Regions from separate parts of the Homo sapiens genome. Here all the other regions are linked to region 2. The links are contacts of gene promoters, found by promoter capture Hi-C in blood cells and fetal thymus (Javierre and others, 2016). All regions are on one chromosome and are shown on one strand. The core of a region is centred on a gene start or on the middle of the fragment in contact, and the rest is flanking DNA. Distances in the headings are between cores, read along the strand shown. Region 1 overlaps ZBTB8OS (zinc finger and BTB domain containing 8 opposite strand). Region 2 holds the start of AZIN2 (antizyme inhibitor 2). Region 3 overlaps CSMD2 (CUB and Sushi multiple domains 2). Region 4 overlaps YARS1 (tyrosyl-tRNA synthetase 1). Region 5 overlaps ZSCAN20 (zinc finger and SCAN domain containing 20). Region 6 overlaps PHC2 (polyhomeotic homolog 2).

Region 1 (2,700 bases), core at 154-2,653, 450 kb after region 2:
CATCCCTACTAAAAATACAAAAATTAGCCAGGTGTGGTGGTGGGCACCTGTAATCTGAACTACTCAGGAGGCTGAGGCAGGAGAATCGCTTGAACCCAGGAGGCAGAGGTTGCAGTGAGCCAAGATTGTGCCACTGCACTCCAGCCTGGCAACAGCGCGAGACTCTGGCTCAAAAAAAAAAAAAAAAAAAAAAGAAACAAGCATGTCCAAAAGTACTAGCTAATAAGTGTTTGAACAGAATTTTAAAGCTTTGCTCTTTCTATTATACCACGTTGTGATCTTCACTCACATTAGTGTCAAAGACAGAGAGGAGACTGATCCTAAGTTCTAGATTACTTTTCTAGGGCCTTCTATATACAGATCATGGATATTTTTGGAAAAGTTGTAAAGTGTAAACCAAGTTCGGACTGTATTATAGAGTCTAGTATTTTGCCTTTGTGGTACTCAGACTTGCTTTCTCCAGTGGGAGGTATTATTTAATTAGTTTTTGTTTTTCTTTTTTGTTTTGTTTTTGTTGTTTTTGTTTTGAGAGAGGGTTTTGCTTTGTCTCTCAGCCTGGAGTGCAGTGGCATGATCATGGCTCACTGCAGCCATGACCTTTTGGGCTCAAGCAATCCTCCTACCTCAACCTCCCACCTAGCTAGGACAACAGACATATGCCACCATGCCTGGCTAATTTTTTTTTTTAATCTTTTGTAGAGACAGGGTCTCGCTACATTGCCCAGGCTGGTCTCAAACCCCTGAGCTCAAGCTATCTTCCTGCCTCAGTCTCCCAAAGTGCTGAGATTACAGGTGTGAGCCACCGCACCCAGCCTACTTAACTAGTTTCATAACTGAGGATAGTAAAAATTTTGAATATGTTACTACTCTGTTTTGAAACAATATTTACTAAACAATGTTTATTGAGATTCCACCATAGGTACACTATATTGGGGCACATTTATTTTGAGATCAACTATCAACCTTTTTTTAAAGTTTTTAAAATTAATTTTTTGTTTGTTTGTTTTTTAGACAGTCTCACTCTGTTGCCCAGGCTGGGAGTGCAATGATGTGATCTTGGTTCACTGCAATGTCCGCCTCCCAGATTCAAACCATTCTTGTGCCTCAGCCTCCCGAGTAGGTGGGACCACGGGCGCATGGAACCATGCCTGCCTAATTTTTGTATTTTTAGTAGAGACGAGTTCTCACCATGTTGGCCAGGCTGGTCTTGAACTCCTGGATTCATCTACCTCTGCCTCCCAAAGTGCTGGGATTACAGGTGGGAGCCACTGTGCCTGGCCACTAGAATTAAATTTTTTTTTTTTTTTGAGACAGAGTCTCGCTCTGTTGCCCAGGCTGGAGTGCAGTGGCATGATCTCAGCTCACTGCAATCTCCGCCTCCTGGCTCAAGCGATTCTCCTGCCTCAGCCTCCTGAGTAGTTCGGATTACAGGTGCCTACCACCACGCCTGGCTAATTTTTGTATTTTTAGTAGAGACAGAGTTTCATCATGTTGGCCAGGCTGGTCTTGAACTCCTGACCTCAGGTGATCCGCCTACCTCGGCCTCCCAAAGTGCTGGGATTACAGGCATGAGCCACCGCGCCTGACCTTTTTCATTTCGCTCTGTTGCCTAGGGTGGAGTGCAGTGGCGCGATCTTGGCTCACTGCAACCTCCACCTCCTGGGTTCAAGCGATTCTCCTGCCTCTGCCTCCCAAGTAGCTGGGATTACAGACATGCGCCACCACGCCCGGCTAATTTTGTGTTTTTAGTAGAGACAGGGTTTTTCCATGTTGGTCAGGCTGGTCTCAAACTGCCGACCTCAACTGCCGACCTCAGATGATCCACCTGCTTCGGCCTCCCAAAGTGCTGGGGTTACAGGCATGAGCCACCGCGCCTGGCCTATAATTAAAAATTCTTTTGAAACACAGTCTTGCCCTGACACCCAGGCTAGAGTGCGGTGGTGCAATCACAGCTCACTGCAGCCTTGACTTCTGGGCTCAAGCAATCTTCCTGCCTCCTCCTCGTGAGTGGCTGGGACCACAGGCATGTGCCACCACACCCAGCTAACTTTTTTTATTTTTTTAATTTTGTGTACAGATGAGGTCTCCCTATGTTGCTCAGGCTGTTCTCAAACTCCTGGGCTCAAGCGATCCTCCCTTTGGCCTCCGGAAGTGCCAGGATTATAGGTATGAGCCACCGCACCTGGCCTTAACTATCAACCTTGAGAGCAAATGATGACACTGCACACACGTCCCTCAACAGCTGTATCTTCTGACAAATGAAAATGAAACTTAACAGCTCCCTGACCCCCTCCTGTCTCTTTTGGCTTTCTAGCATGTTAACCACATTTACAAGGCTTATTTTAAAACATATAAAGAGAGAACAAATCTTAATCATGTTTTAATTTGTATTCTCAAGGTGGGGAGAAGAATTTTCATTGTCCAAGCACCCTCAGGTATGTTTTAAAATCCAGCCATTAAGAACATGAAAAATTTCCTTACCATAAAGTTCATATATGTGACAATCAACTTCAGTTAGTTCTAACTGGTGTAAAGTGATAAGTTTTTCTCAAGCTTCTCTGACCTGTCTGGATATATTTTGTTAAAATACTGTGATTATACACACCTGATTTAGTGGATGAGGCGTCAGCATTGGGTTCTAGGGTCAAGTTTGTTCAGATTATTGTGGAATTTGAAATTCTCTTTGCCTTTTTGACCTTT
Region 2 (2,700 bases), core at 31-2,530:
GGCCCTAGGGACCCTTCCTGAGGAGGCAGCTGATCTGTACAGGGGACCGGGGACCCACCCCCATTCCCAGCCCCTCACCGTGGTGGCCTGTGAGGCCCCCAGAGTGAGTTCCTTCAGCAGGTCTCGGGTACTGAAGCCCTCCTCCACCATCACAAAGTCCGATTCACTCAGGTAGCCAGCCATGCCTTGCAGGAGGAGCTGACGGGCTGGATGGAGCCGCTGCTGCAGCCGCCGCCTTAGAAAGTATGCAACACACTGCGGGGCGAGGGGAGATGAAGGGAACCGCTGGGGGGCCGGCTCTGCTGCCCCACTCGCCTCCCGAGGCCAGGGATCCCAATCCCGTCACAACCCGCCCCCAGCACAAGCCCGGGGTTCACTGGGCAAGGGTGGAGAAAGTCAAGAATCCCGGATTTCAGACGGAGACAAGGCACCGTATGCCCAAATGTCACTGCCTCTCCGAGTCAGTTGCTCCCTCTGTAAAATGGATGAATTGTTTTGGAGAGCCTTCCCAGTTCTGAAATTCTGGATTTCAGGAAAGAGTGAGAGAGAGATGGAACAGAAAATCTGAGAAACTTGGGTGGGGAAGTTTCCAGGGCGCCCCCAGTCTTGACCACGCCCACCTAGAGGGTAGCCGGTGGCCACATCAAGGCGTCTCAGCCTAAGAGCAAGAGCTTAAGTTCGAGTCCGCTCTCTACTGCTTGACCTCGGGTACCCTCTGACCCTTTCGGAGCCGCAGTTTCCCCAATTGTAAATGGGGGCTGGACTGATCCTGAGGTGCTAGAATTCTAGGCGTGCCTGGGGACGCCACGCGGTGGGTGGGGGCCGCAAGCTCCTGGGAGAGAACGGAAGGCCGAGGTTTTTTCTGTCCGAGTGACTCCTACAGAGTGCAGGGCTGAGGTCCCCCCAACCCCCAGGGCCCCTTACCAAACTCCGTCCTCCTTCGCGGGGGCCAGAGCCAGGCGCGCTGCTAGGGGGGGTCGCCGGTGACCTCGAAACTTGTGCAACACCCCGAGGAGGAGTGGCAGTTGCGGAGCCGAGGCCTCTGCTGACAGGAGGCAGAAGGGGCAGGGAGGCAGGTCAGCACCAGGGCGGAGGGCGTCCGCTCCCCGAGGCTCCCCAGGCCACTTTCCGCACTCGCCTTAAAACGCATTTACACGGCTTCGGCCCATAGGTCTCCCCAGGGAGTGAATCGGATCCTCGGCGCCTCCGCTCTCTCGCTTCCCCGGGCTCGGGTCCCGCGGCCTGCGCCCCGCCAGCCCAGCAGCCACAGACCCCCACGCCCCGCCTTCCGCCCGCCGCTGGCTTATATAACCCCGCCCAGGCCCCGCCCATAGTGCCGAGGCCCTACCTCCGCTTGGCCGTAGCCCTGGCAACCGGGTGCCGCCATCCCATTGGTCGATTCCGACATAAAGCATTCAGCTCTGCTCGCCCTTACTGTAGTCTTCTCCCCCGGAGGCCTGGCGGTGGCTACCTCACGCTGGAAGTCAGAACTACAGGGCCGCCGCCACGCAGGTGAGACACTTAGACCCTGCATCTTAGGTCTTAGAGAGTGGGCAGGACCAGGAAGCCTTTTCTGCCTCTGCCTCAACTTACTTCGTGGTCCAGCTCTTGTCTGCGTCAGGAACTGCTCACTCATCTCTCGAAACCCGGTTCCAATGACATGTCCTTGTATTACTTTTGTAATAAAATTCTTTTTATTTAATTGCCTCTTCCAGGCATCTTCCCCGACTCCAACTCAAAACGCATCTAAAATGTCTTCAGAGAACCTTTTTGTGACTTTCCCAGTTCAGGGCAATCCCTCCCTTTATCCCATCCTGTGAACCCGGCAAACTCTTACTCATCTCTCAATAGAAATGTGTCTCCTTCTCCAAGAAGCTTTCCCGGACTTCCTCAACTCAAAGCATTTCTTCTATACCGAAAGCTGCTGCTCACCCATCAAAGTCCTGTATAATGTCACCTCTGTTGAACCTTCCATGACTTGCCTGGCCCCAAGGAACACAGCATTTAGTCTGTCTGGACCCCTCACTCATTTGGTTCTTGTTACCCATAGCGTGAGATTCCTGTTGTTATTTTACACTTCTTGTTTGGTTACACTTTGCATCTAGTTTGTGATTTCCCAAGGGCAAGGACTGAATACCCTGCTCAAGAGCCTGGTGCCTGGCATAGACAAGAATGCTGAGGAAGATTCAATAGCTGTGTTACTCAAAAGCTGATATAAAAGTTCATCTGGAAAAGTAAGTGTACAAGAACAGTCAAGACACTCTTTTTGCCCAGGCTGGAGTGCAATGGCACGATCTCAGCTCACTGCAACCTCTGCCTCCTGGGTTCAAGCGATTCTCCTGCCTCAGCCTCCCAAGTAACTGGGATTATAGGCGCATGCCACCACGCACAGCTAATTTTGTATTTTCAGTAGAGATGGGGTTTCACCATATTGGCCAGGGTGGTCTTGAACTCCTGACCTCCAGTAATCTACCCGCCCCGGCCTCCCAAAGTGCTGGGATTATAGGCGTGAGCCACCGCGCCCGGCCAAAACTACAGTCTTTAAAACAGTATGGTGCTGGAGCAGGAAGAGACAGTGGTAAAACAGAACAGGGTCTACAACAGTCCCATATACATTGGAGATTGGTACACAATGGAGGCAGCATTTCAAATCAATGAAGCCAAAGGGCTTTTGGTCTACCATATGTCTTCATGTCCCCT
Region 3 (2,700 bases), core at 63-2,562, 490 kb before region 2:
TTCTTCCAAACTTAAAAAAAAAAAGAAGAAAAAACTCTTCTGCTGATGATCCTCCCATTTTCTTTTTTATTATGATACTTTACCCTTTAATTAGTTTTTACTAATAAAAGGACCTTGGGAGGGGAGGAAGGATAAAAATAGTTTCTCAGAATACCATCTTAAAACAAATGCTCATGACATTGTTTTCCTTTTGCTAGCTCTTTCCTGTGGGCTTCCTGAGGCCCCCAAGAATGGAATGGTGTTTGGCAAGGAGTACACAGTGGGAACCAAGGCCATGTACAGCTGCAGTGAAGGCTACCACCTCCAGGCAGGCGCTGAGGCCACTGCAGAGTGTCTGGACACAGGCCTATGGAGCAACCGCAATGTCCCACCACAGTGTGTCCGTGAGTCCTCGGGCAATGGAGGCGGGTGTAAGGAAGGGCTAGGTAGGCAGCTGGAAAGATTCCTGCAAGGAGTGAGCTAAAAGCAAAGTAATGAGGGGGAAAAAAAAAAAAAAACATGGACATGGAGGTTGGAGGATTTCAGAAGAGGAGGCAGGTGCTGAAACTGCTCTCAGCATTGATAACCATTGTGCCCTAAGATGTTTCCACAAACCACCATGGAACTTAGGAATGGCCTGGTCCACTCCCTTTTAGATGGAAAACCTGTCAGAAAGTTTGCATGAATGTCCCTTGATTCCAAAGCTCTAAAAACAACAACTTTTAGGCCAGATCACAAAATGGCAACCTCCTCGACTATGTCCCATCCAAAGACAGAGGTTTTTGTTTTGTTTTGTTTTTTGGCCTACACGGTGCTTTATAACAAATTTTGAATTACTCCACAATCTTTTAAAATCAAGAAATTTTACATTAAAATCCAGATTTCTGTCTTCTCTTGAAAAATGAAAATCTAATCAAATGCAACTCAAACATTCAATAGTCAACCTTGACTGAGTACTATTTCCCTTTTTTAATTTTTAATTTTTTAGCAGAACTGTACTCCCCAGTTTGCCACATCCCCCACCCAACCCACCTGTTCATTTACCAAACCTGCCTGAGAACTGAAGATTCCTGGATTCTTCATTATTGCATTAAGGTCTCCAAGTCCCTAGATCTGGGCTCTTACAAGGTCTTCCAGAATTAATCAAGTAATTAATCCTCCTTTCTTTTCCTCATTTCCCCAGCTGTGACTTGTCCTGATGTCAGTAGCATCAGCGTGGAGCATGGCCGATGGAGGCTTATCTTTGAGACACAGTATCAGTTCCAGGCCCAGCTGATGCTCATCTGTGACCCTGGCTACTACTATACTGGCCAAAGGGTCATCCGCTGTCAGGCCAATGGCAAATGGAGCCTCGGGGACTCTACGCCCACCTGCCGAAGTAAGCCCAGGAAGGGAGGGTGGGCAAGTTTAGCAGGGTCCCTCCTACCTAAGCTGTCTCATGCATGGAGTGAACTGGGGTGGGGGAAAAAGGGGTATCACCAGGGATTGCAGTGTACTGCTTTTTAAACTCTCATCTAGTAGAATCAGGAGCTGGGAAAATGCCTACTCCTTTACTCCTTTAAGGAAGTATTTCTTAGCATCTTCTCATCTTATCAAAAGCTGCTTTTGTCCAGATGAGCATGCACTAATTCATTTCTTTAATATTCTTAGGCTCTTACTATATGCCAGACACTGTAGAGGTTTGAAGATAAAAGATTTTGGTTCCTGCCCACAAGGACTTTATAGTCTACTGGAGAGGCAGACACATAAAGAAGTGATGATAATGTGGTGCGATAAGACCTGAAATGGGAGTGTATATAGGAGGAATGAGGGTAGCACAGGCGACAGGTCACCTAAACCTGCCTGCCTTCTCCATTGTCAATTGTTTTTCTTTGGTTCTTTAATACACTTTCAAAGGTCGGAATCTCTGGGAAGACACTCTGAGACAGAGGCTTATTAGGGGGTGCTCTTGAGAACACCACCTACAGAAGGGAAAGGAGGGAAGGAAGCAGGACTGGGCAGAAGGAGAATTGAGCTCTGATGCAGTATCCATGAAAGCCTTAGCTCACCCCCCAGGGAGCTCTGGATGGCCCTTCAGAATTGTCACAAGTTGGAGCAAGGGAACTGTTATACTGCCACACTGACCAGCCACTGGATGCAGGCTGGCCTAGGAATGGGACATGACCTTCCTAGGTGGGAGGACTCCTCAACCACAGCAATCTGAAAAGGGCTGCCAGCCAAGGGTTGTTTTCCAGCAGCTGGGGAAATAAGTCCCTCGGTCCTAAAAGGGGCTCTGAGTAGCTCATCGCAGCATGCACTACGATAGGGATATGCTCATCATATTTATGTGACCAATGCAGATGTCACAGAGGAGGCAAGTGATTGTAAAGAGGTAGAAGGAAGTGGTCAGTGAGAAGTGGGAGTTTGAAACTGGGAAGGAGGAGAAATGGTGTCTTCCAATGCCTGTGATCCAGGTTGGGCATAGATCCCAGCATTTGAGAGGCTGAAGTGGGTGGATCACTTGAGGTCAGGAGTTCGAGACCAGCCTGGCCGACATGGTGAAACCCTGTCTCTACTAAAAAAAAAAAAAAAAAAAATTAGCCAGCATGGTGGTGCCCACCTGTAATCCCAGCTACTTGGGAGGCTGAGGCAAAAGAATTGTTTGAACCTAGGAGGCAGAGGTTGCAGGGAGCCAAGACTGTGCCACTGCACTCCAGCCTGGACGACTGTGCAAGACTCCGT
Region 4 (2,700 bases), core at 134-2,633, 270 kb after region 2:
AGGGCCAGGCATGGTGGCTCACGCCTGTAATCTCAGCACTTTGGGAGGCTGAGGTCAGGAGTTCAAGACCAGCCTGGCCAACATGGTGAAACCCCATCTCTACTAAAAATACAAAAATTAGCCAGGTGTGGTGGTGCACGCCTGTAATCCCAGTACTCAGGAGGCTGAGGCAGGATAATCGCTTGAACCCACGGGGCAGAGGTTGTGGTGAGCCGAGATCGCACCACTGCACTCCAGCCTGGGCAACAGAGCGAGACTCTGTTTCAAAAAAAAAAAAAAAATGGTGGGGGAGTGGGGGTTGCTGGATGCAGTGGCTCATGCCTGTAATCCCAGCACTTTGGGAGGCCAAGGCAGGAGAATCACTTGAGCTCAGGAATTCGAGACCAGAGTGGGCGTAGCGAGACCTCATCTCTACTAAAAATCAAAAAAATTAGCTAGGCATCATGGCATGCACCTGTAATCCCAGCTACTTGAGAGGCTGAGGTGGGAGGATCACTTGAGCTGAGATCAAAGCTTCAGTGACTATGATTGTGCCATTATACTGCAACCTGGGCAACAGAGCAAGATCCTGTCTCAAAAACAAAAAAACATGGAAATAGATTGGGAAATTTTGATATCAGTTGAAAAGGCATTCCAAATGAAGAGACTGAAGGAGAATGGCAGAGAAGCAGTGTTTCAAGAGATAATGGCAGAACGTTTTCCAGAAGTGAAGAAAAATACTAATTGAAGCCCTCTTTTAAAAAGAAAAACAAGCCCGCTACTGTGGCTTGTTTTCCCAGCACTTTGGTAGGCTGGGGTGGGCAGATTGCTCGAGCCCAGCAGTTCCAGACCAGCCTGGGCAATGGGGGGAAACCACGTCTCTACAAAAAATAGAAAAATTAGCCAGGTGTGGTGGCACATGCCTATAGTCCTAGTTCCTTTGGAGGTTGAGGTGGGAGGATCACCTGAGCCCAGGGAGATTGAGGCTGCAATGAGCTGTGATCACACCACTGTGTTCCAGCCCAGGTGACAGAGTGAGACCCTGTCTCAAAAAAAAAAATAAAAGGAAAAACATAAAAATAAAGTAATATTTTAGATGAGAAGATAGGTCTATCACATTTTAGAAGCTACCAGGCAGTGCTCTGTTTGAATGTCCTAATGTAACTGGACCCAGGTTTGGCTGCCCGGCCACTTGAAAGCCCGACACAAGAGATATGGGTTGGTAGGAGGAAAAGCAGGTTTGATCAGAAAGCCAACAAACCGAGAAGATGGTGAACTAGTGTTCTAAAGTACTATCTTAAATTCTAAATGTTACCATAGTGTTTTTAAAGGGAGACTTGGTGTGGGAGACATGCAGGAGTGGTGAGAATGCAGGGTCTGTCTGTCTTTGTTCTGATGGCTGTCTTGCATAATTGCCTGTCAGGAGGTATGGTTGGTGTTATCTTGACTTCAGACTGATGGTGATGGACTAATCGTTCCAGACTCCCTCTGAGCAGGAGGATTCTGCAGTCTGGGCTCCATGCCTAGTTTGTTTCAAGATTAGCTTCTGTGATTTCTTTTTTTCCAACTTTTATTTTAGATTCAAGGGGTGCATGTGCAGGTTTGTTACATGTCACAGGAGTTTGGTGTACAGACAATTTTGTCACCCAGGTAATCAGCACAATACCCAATAGGTAGTTTTTGAATCCTCACCCTCCTCTCTGAAATTTCTTAAGCAAGAACATAATTAAATAAGCATGCATTGCCAGAAGGGAGGGAAAGAAGAAGAAAGTTGGTGATTAAAATATATTTTTAAAACCGAGATCCCTGGTTACACTAAGGTTAGGGAAGTAAATTAATGTGCTTTAGATTTCCTAGGAAACTGAGGCCTAGGCCCAGGTTTACAGCTGTCCCCTCTTCCTTTCCTCTTCAGAGAGTACACACTAGATGTGTACAGACTCTCCTCCGTGGTCACACAGCACGATTCCAAGAAGGCTGGAGCTGAGGTGGTAAAGCAGGTGGAGCACCCTTTGCTGAGTGGCCTCTTATACCCCGGACTGCAGGTACTTAAGGGGGATGGAGTGGCCCGATGACCTTTTCTGCTCTGGTTTGATGACAGGCATATCTTATTGCACTTTGCTTTACTGCACTACGCAGATATTGTGTTTTTTACAAATTGAAGGTGTGTGGCAACCCTGTGTACAGCAAGTCCACCAGCACCATTTTTCCAACAGCATGTGCTCACTTCGTGTCTCTGTGCTACATTTTGGTAATTCTCACAGTATTTCAAGCTTTTTCATTATTATCATATCTGCATGGTGATATGCGATCTGTTACCTTTGATGTTAAATATTGTAATTGTTTTGGGGCACCACAAACTGTGCCCGTATAAGACAACGAACTTAATAAGTATTGTGTGTGTTCTGACTACTCTACCATCCAGCCATTTCCTCACTCTCCTGGCCTCCTCATTTCCTAAAACACAACAATATTGAAATTAGGCTAATTAATAACCCTACAATGGCCTCTAAGTGTTGAAAGGGAGAGTCACACATAGCTCACTTTATTTATTTATTTATTTTTGAGACGGAATCTCGCTGTGTCGCCCAGGCTGGAGTGCAGTGGCGAAATCTCGGCTCACTGCAACCTCCGCCTCCCGGGTTCAAGCAATTCTCTGCCTCAGCCTCCCGAGTAGCTGGGATTACAGGCGCCTGCCACCATGCCCGGCTGATTTTTTTTGTA
Region 5 (2,700 bases), core at 111-2,610, 400 kb before region 2:
CCACATGAAAAAAAAAAAAAGCTTCTATCCTATCCTTCACAAAAATCAACTCAAAATGGATCACAGACCTTAACGTTAAAATGAAAAACTATAAAATTCCTAAAATATAGGAGAAAACTGAGATAATGTCAGGTATAGCAATGACTTTTCAGATACAAAATCAAAGGCATAATCCATGAAAGAAATAATTGATAAGCTGGACTTCGTTAAAATTAAAAAATACTGCTCTATGAAAGATACTGTCAAGAGAATGAGAAGACAAGCCACAGACTGGGAGAATATATTTGCAAAACACATATCTGATAAAGGACCGTTACCCCGAACATACAAAGAACTCTTAAAACTCAAGAGTAAGAAGACAAACAACCCAATTTAAAAATGGGCAAGACTTTAACAGTCACCACACCAAAGAAAATATACAGATGGCAAGTAAACATATGAAAACATGTATAACATGGTAGGTTATTGGTGAATTGCAAATTCGAACAACAATAAAATACCACTATCTACCTATTAGAATGGCCAAAATCCAAAACACCAAATGCTGGCAAGGATGTGGGGCAACAAGAACTCCCATTCATTGCTAGTAAAAATGCAAAATGGTACAGCCACTTTGGATGACAGTTTGGCAATTTCTTACAAAGGTAAACATACTCTTACCATATGATCCAGCAATCATGTCCCTTGGTATTTACCCAAATGAACTGAAAACTAGGTCCACACAAAAACCTGCATATGAATATTTACAGCAGCTTCATACATAACTGCCAAAACTTTGATGGAACCAAGATGTCCTTCAGTAGGTGAGTAGATAAATAAACTGTGGTACATCCACACAACGGAATATTGTTAAGCATTAAAGAGAAATGAGCTAACAAGCCATGAAAAGACGTGGAGGAAACTTAAATGTATACTACTAAGTAAAAGAAGCCAATCTGAAAGGGCTATATACTGTATGATTCCAACTATGTAACATTTTTTAAAAGGCAAAACTATGGAGACAGTATAAAGATCGGTGTTGCCAGGGGTTGGGGGGAAGGAAGAATAAACAGGTAGAACACAGAGGGTTTTTACAGCAGTGAAGCTACTCTGTATGTCACTACAATGGTAGATACATGTTACTATGTCACTATGATGGTAGATACAGTTTATAATAGGGCTCTTAATGTCATACATTACAGAATGAATAACATTAAGAGCCCTAACATAAACTGCTACTTTGAGTGATGATAATGATGTATCACTGTAGGTTCATCAATGGTAATAAACATATTGCTCTGGTGCAGGGATGTTGATAGTTAGGGAGGCTTGTCGGGGAGGGATGGGAACTCTCTGTACCTTCTGCTCAATTTTGCTGTGAGTTTGAGCCTAAAATTGCTCTAAAAAATAAAGCCTGTTTTTTAAAAATCCCTGTGCACCTGATGGAGAGGGGGCATCTGACAGAGAGGGGGATTCAACAAGATGGTGATGACAGAAGAAACAAGTAACAATCACAAAATAGCAGAGCTGAAAGATCCCTTTTAGGAAATTACCTTAGGGGCCATTTAGTCCTGTAGGCACCAACCTTTTTCAGGTTCACTTTGAGGAATATTATAACTATATTTCATCCCATTATTAAGACTTGAAAAATTTTACTTGCAGAGAATGCAACTAAGTTATATATCTTGCAATGTAAGATCACAAGCTACATTTGCACCTGAAAAAAACAAGCTCCTCTGCTACTTGTCCATTTGTTTTGAAATTTGTGACCACTCAGGAGCAGGTAGGAAAGTTTAAAAATAAAAAAAGTCACAGTAAAAACAAAAATACATAATAGACAAGATTCCATTACCTTATTTTTTTCTCAATTTTAGAAGCAGTTCAACTTTTGGTCAGCTCACAGGGGCATAATTTGAGAACCTTTGGTCTAATCCAACCCTCTCATTTTACAGATGAAGAATCATAAAGACCTTGATTTAAATCCGTTTTCATCTCTGGGTCTCAAGTTCTTTATGTCCCAACTCTGAAGCCCTAAAACTTCCATTTGTTTCTTCACTGCCACTTAAGACAAACAGCTGGTTTCTTTAAAAGAAATAATATAGGGGGGTGGGGAGGTACATTAAAATAAGGCACACTCTCTCATACTTAGTTCTGTAACTTTATATATTAGTCTCCCTGTATCTTCAATCAGTTTGTAAAGGAATCCAAAGAGCAAAGTCACCGGTCTAAAACCTTTGCTCCCCCAACCTCACACTGTATAGAACTTTACAGTTTAAATGTACAGAAAACCCCTGCCATTTGCAAGGGATATGTTCCCAAACCTGTAATTTCCCCCAGCAAAATGGGGGTAAGTAAAATATCACAAGAATTACTAACTATAACAAGTAGAGAAAAAGTCATGTTTAGAGGAAGGTTCTGGATCCAGCTAAAGGATCTGTTCTACATATACCAGCTTTGAAGCAGGATTCAAAATGTGTGTCATAGCAAAATTATGCATTATATCATGGGCTTTCAGCGGTCACTTGCAAATTGTTGAAACTGCGAATGTTAAATCCATACTTTCATTTCCCTTACCTCAGCTCTATCACGTAGTTATATAAAGTTAGATAAGTTACTTACCTCTCCATCTCTGTTTACCCATTTGGCAAATGGCAATGATAATAGCACCTACCTTATTGGATTGCTGGGTTGATTAGATGAGGGCTATATATATAAGCTTAG
Region 6 (2,781 bases), core at 4-2,503, 320 kb before region 2:
CCTAGTCACACTCATAATGCAGGACAGAGGTGGATCCTATTCAGGCCTGAATACCCCAACCCCACACACTGTTTTGTTCTACTGTTCACTTTGTACATCTGTAGTAGAATTTTTCACATTTTGCCTTGTATATAGTTTCATTGTTCTTCCAATACTGTAAAACTCCTTGAACTCTGGACCCAGACTGCCTGAAGAAAGAAACCGTGTCTTTTTCACCTACCCTCCAAGCAACAATCAGCGAGGCTATCGAGGTCAACTGGACTTGCCCCAAGAACACTTCATGGTCAATGTCTGGGTCAGGAATTGACTTTAGCCAACTGTGCCCTCTGTTGTGAAGCCATCCTAGAAACCAGTGCCTCCCATCTGTGTGTGCTTTCTAGCTCTGAAAACTACCAAAAAGTCCCTGTATCTACTGGAATATAGCTTTGGGAAACCAAGAATGCCTGCAGCCCCTCGTTCAGCAGGTACTTCAATGCAGAGGACCAATGTGGGCAGAACTGCACTACCAGCTTGTGAATGAATGTTCAGATGGGAAGTGAGCATCTTTTCCCTTATGTTTTGTGCTAAGAATACTGTGATGTTGAAGCCCAGATACTTTAAGATACATAGACATTTGGAAAATAAAGAAAAGGATAAATGAGAAAATAAAAATCAGCAGTAACACTATCACCCAAAGCAGCCATTGTTAACATTTGGTATCTATCCTCCCAGCTAAGCTATACATTAAATAACATGTACTTAACAATGGGATTATATTATGCATATTACATTTGTAACAAGCTTAGTGCCATTTTGATTGGTTATTCCAAATCTAGGGGAAGCCTATTAGACAAAAGTTCTCTCCTTCCTCTGGCTGTGATTTACTGGGGGTAGAGGTGGGGTTTAAATCATAATTACACTTACTTAATGTCATTTAAAATGTTGCAAAGCATTTCACATCCTGCTGAGGAATCTGATAGTGCTGAAGCAAGACCAGAGTCTACCTCTGCACTCAAGCCTTAGAGCCTTTCCACAATGCTTTTCAGTTTCAGGTTTCAGGAGGAAAGAGAAGCAAAAAGCAGTGCTATCATAAGCAGGGCTAGATGATCTAATGGCAGAGCCAGATGGGGTCTTGTTTTTAGTTGCAATCTGTCTGAGGCATTCTTGTAATATTATTTAACAATTAATTTTTAAGTATTTTTTTACATGCACAGGGAACAAAGTCCAAAAGATTCAAAAGAGTATACGGTGAAAAGCATGCCTCCCCCTACTCCCCGGGAGGCATCACTGTCTGCGATTTCTTGTGTATCCTTATCTGAAGCATTTTGAGTTCAAAGGGCAGGCAAGCATTTGCAGAGGTCATCAAGGGTATTTTCCTTTGTCGCATCAGTATTCTCTGCAGAGGTCATCCTGGTAACCAGGCTTCATAACCCCCAACAATATTCCAAAGGAATATCTCCTTTCAAAGTGCATGGTGGATGTACCCTGAGGCAGAGCCAAAATCACCCACTGAGACCACCCCAAACAAAGAGGGCAGAGAGCTGCCGTGCTGCCAGAGGAACAGACTCAGGAGGGCCACAGCTGAATCTGGACCAGTCTCAGAGTCAGGAGACCGAGGCCTCATCTGGTCTCTGCCATGGATGGACTGTAAGCAAGTTACTTAACCTTTCTGCGAAGTCTCCTCCTTGTCTAACAGGGTAAGATTATAATTAAGAGGATGGCTCAAAACAATTCCTCTTAAGCTTTAATGTGCACGTGAATGACCCAGAGGATCTTGTTGCAATGCTCATTCAGATTCAGCAGGTCTGGGGTGGGGCCCAAGATTCTGCATTTTCAACATGCTCCAAAGACTCAAGAAGTGGCCCTCAACTACTGGCCTGTGACCTGTTCCCGGGACTAAGCACCTGGTAATGTTTACTTCAGAGCTGAGCAGCTCCCTCTGGAGAACCCTGGCATTCAATTTCCTAAGATTTTTATTTGACCTCTGGTGCCTGGTGATGGTGCTGCTGCCAGACCCTGTGCTGAATGCTCTGAATATATGGTTCCTCTCATTGTCCCAGCTACTCAGTGAAGTAGGTGTTGTGATTATCCCCATTTCACAGATGAGGAAACTAAGGCTTAGAGAGGTGAATGTGCTCAATATTACACAGCTGGTAAGAGGCAGAGCAGGCCTTCCCACAGACCATCTGATTCCAGACTCCTCGTGTTAACACTAAACCAAAGAGCGAGTGGCATTCTCCATTTCAGCCTTGAAAGTGAACACCATAGGAAGTGCTGTACCAAGGGGCCTCCTCTTGTGTCTGTGTGGGAGGAGGACGCTGCTGTCCGTCAGCTCAGAGTGTCTCCTCCAAAGAAATGCATCTCAGCTTGCAAAGCCTCTACCTCAAATTTTTGTGAAAACTCTTCAAGGATTCTGACCGCAGCTCTTATCAGTTACGGGGCAGGAAGCCGCCTTCCACAAGCCACTCTCTCCCCATACCAGAGGGTTCCTTGGCTGTGAACAGCACTTAGATTGTGTCAGAGGAAGGCCATGGGCTTTAACAGGCCACATCCATTTTCATTTACCTTCTGAAAGAAGATTAAGGAGAAAATTCAATTTTGCCTAATGCCTCCCCCAAATGGCTAATTTATATGCTAATTAGCAAGATAGGGATCGATGAAACTGGTAATCAATATGATATCCAAGGCAATGGTAATGAAATTCATTCTGAGATGCACTGGCAGTGGAAATGAAGCAATTATGCAGAATAAATGGGGCAGCTCAGGGAATAAGGGCCCCAGATTGCACTTGACTGCATTATT

Evidence for each region. The method cuts DNA at HindIII sites, captures the fragments that hold promoters and counts their contacts. A CHiCAGO score of 5 or more calls a contact.
Region 1: a fragment that was not itself captured here is called in contact with the fragment with the promoter of AZIN2 in region 2 in 1 of 17 cell types (total CD8 T cells); the score reaches 5.4 in total CD8 T cells.
Region 3: a contact is called between a fragment that was not itself captured here and the fragment with the promoter of AZIN2 in region 2, in 1 of 17 cell types (M2 macrophages). The highest score is 5.3, in M2 macrophages.
Region 4: a fragment that was not itself captured here is called in contact with the fragment with the promoter of AZIN2 in region 2 in 1 of 17 cell types (M2 macrophages); the score reaches 6.3 in M2 macrophages.
Region 5: a contact is called between a fragment that was not itself captured here and the fragment with the promoter of AZIN2 in region 2, in 1 of 17 cell types (M2 macrophages). The highest score is 5.4, in M2 macrophages.
Region 6: a fragment that was not itself captured here is called in contact with the fragment with the promoter of AZIN2 in region 2 in 1 of 17 cell types (neutrophils); the score reaches 5.2 in neutrophils.

The regions. Positions count from the first base shown.
Region 1 is chr1:32,627,243-32,629,942 of GRCh38, reverse strand. It overlaps ZBTB8OS (zinc finger and BTB domain containing 8 opposite strand), which reads left to right. Exons shown (of 7, transcript NM_178547.5): 6 at 2,399-2,435. Among named protein-coding and RNA genes, the nearest start is that of ZBTB8OS, 22 kb to the left of the region's middle. The HindIII fragment of the contact is 2,305 bases long and covers 251-2,555 here.
Region 2 is chr1:33,079,733-33,082,432 of GRCh38, reverse strand. AZIN2 (antizyme inhibitor 2) reads right to left here and starts at 1,280. Exons shown (of 12, transcript NM_052998.4): 1 at 1,139-1,280; 2 at 925-1,045; 3 at 621-832; 4 at 79-255. The coding sequence starts at 183. It overlaps LOC105378635 (a long non-coding RNA gene), which reads left to right and starts at 1,437. Exons shown (of 3, transcript XR_947163.2): 1 at 1,437-1,512; 2 at 2,106-2,234. RefSeq lists a silencer at 1,059-1,318. The HindIII fragment of the contact is 16,354 bases long and covers 1-1,877 here.
Region 3 is chr1:33,570,189-33,572,888 of GRCh38, reverse strand. It overlaps CSMD2 (CUB and Sushi multiple domains 2), which reads left to right. Exons shown (of 71, transcript NM_001281956.2): 50 at 198-383; 51 at 1,163-1,357. Among named protein-coding and RNA genes, the nearest start is that of ZSCAN20, 99 kb to the right of the region's middle. The HindIII fragment of the contact is 4,858 bases long and covers 1-2,700 here.
Region 4 is chr1:32,805,803-32,808,502 of GRCh38, reverse strand. It overlaps YARS1 (tyrosyl-tRNA synthetase 1), which reads left to right. Exons shown (of 13, transcript NM_003680.4): 4 at 1,892-2,021. Among named protein-coding and RNA genes, the nearest start is that of YARS1, 10 kb to the left of the region's middle. The HindIII fragment of the contact is 1,736 bases long and covers 516-2,251 here.
Region 5 is chr1:33,480,574-33,483,273 of GRCh38, reverse strand. The region is part of intron 2 of ZSCAN20 (zinc finger and SCAN domain containing 20); the gene reads right to left. Among named protein-coding and RNA genes, the nearest start is that of ZSCAN20, 9.3 kb to the right of the region's middle. The HindIII fragment of the contact is 2,674 bases long and covers 24-2,697 here.
Region 6 is chr1:33,396,380-33,399,160 of GRCh38, reverse strand. The region is part of intron 1 of PHC2 (polyhomeotic homolog 2); the gene reads left to right. Among named protein-coding and RNA genes, the nearest start is that of PHC2, 33 kb to the left of the region's middle. The HindIII fragment of the contact is 941 bases long and covers 783-1,723 here.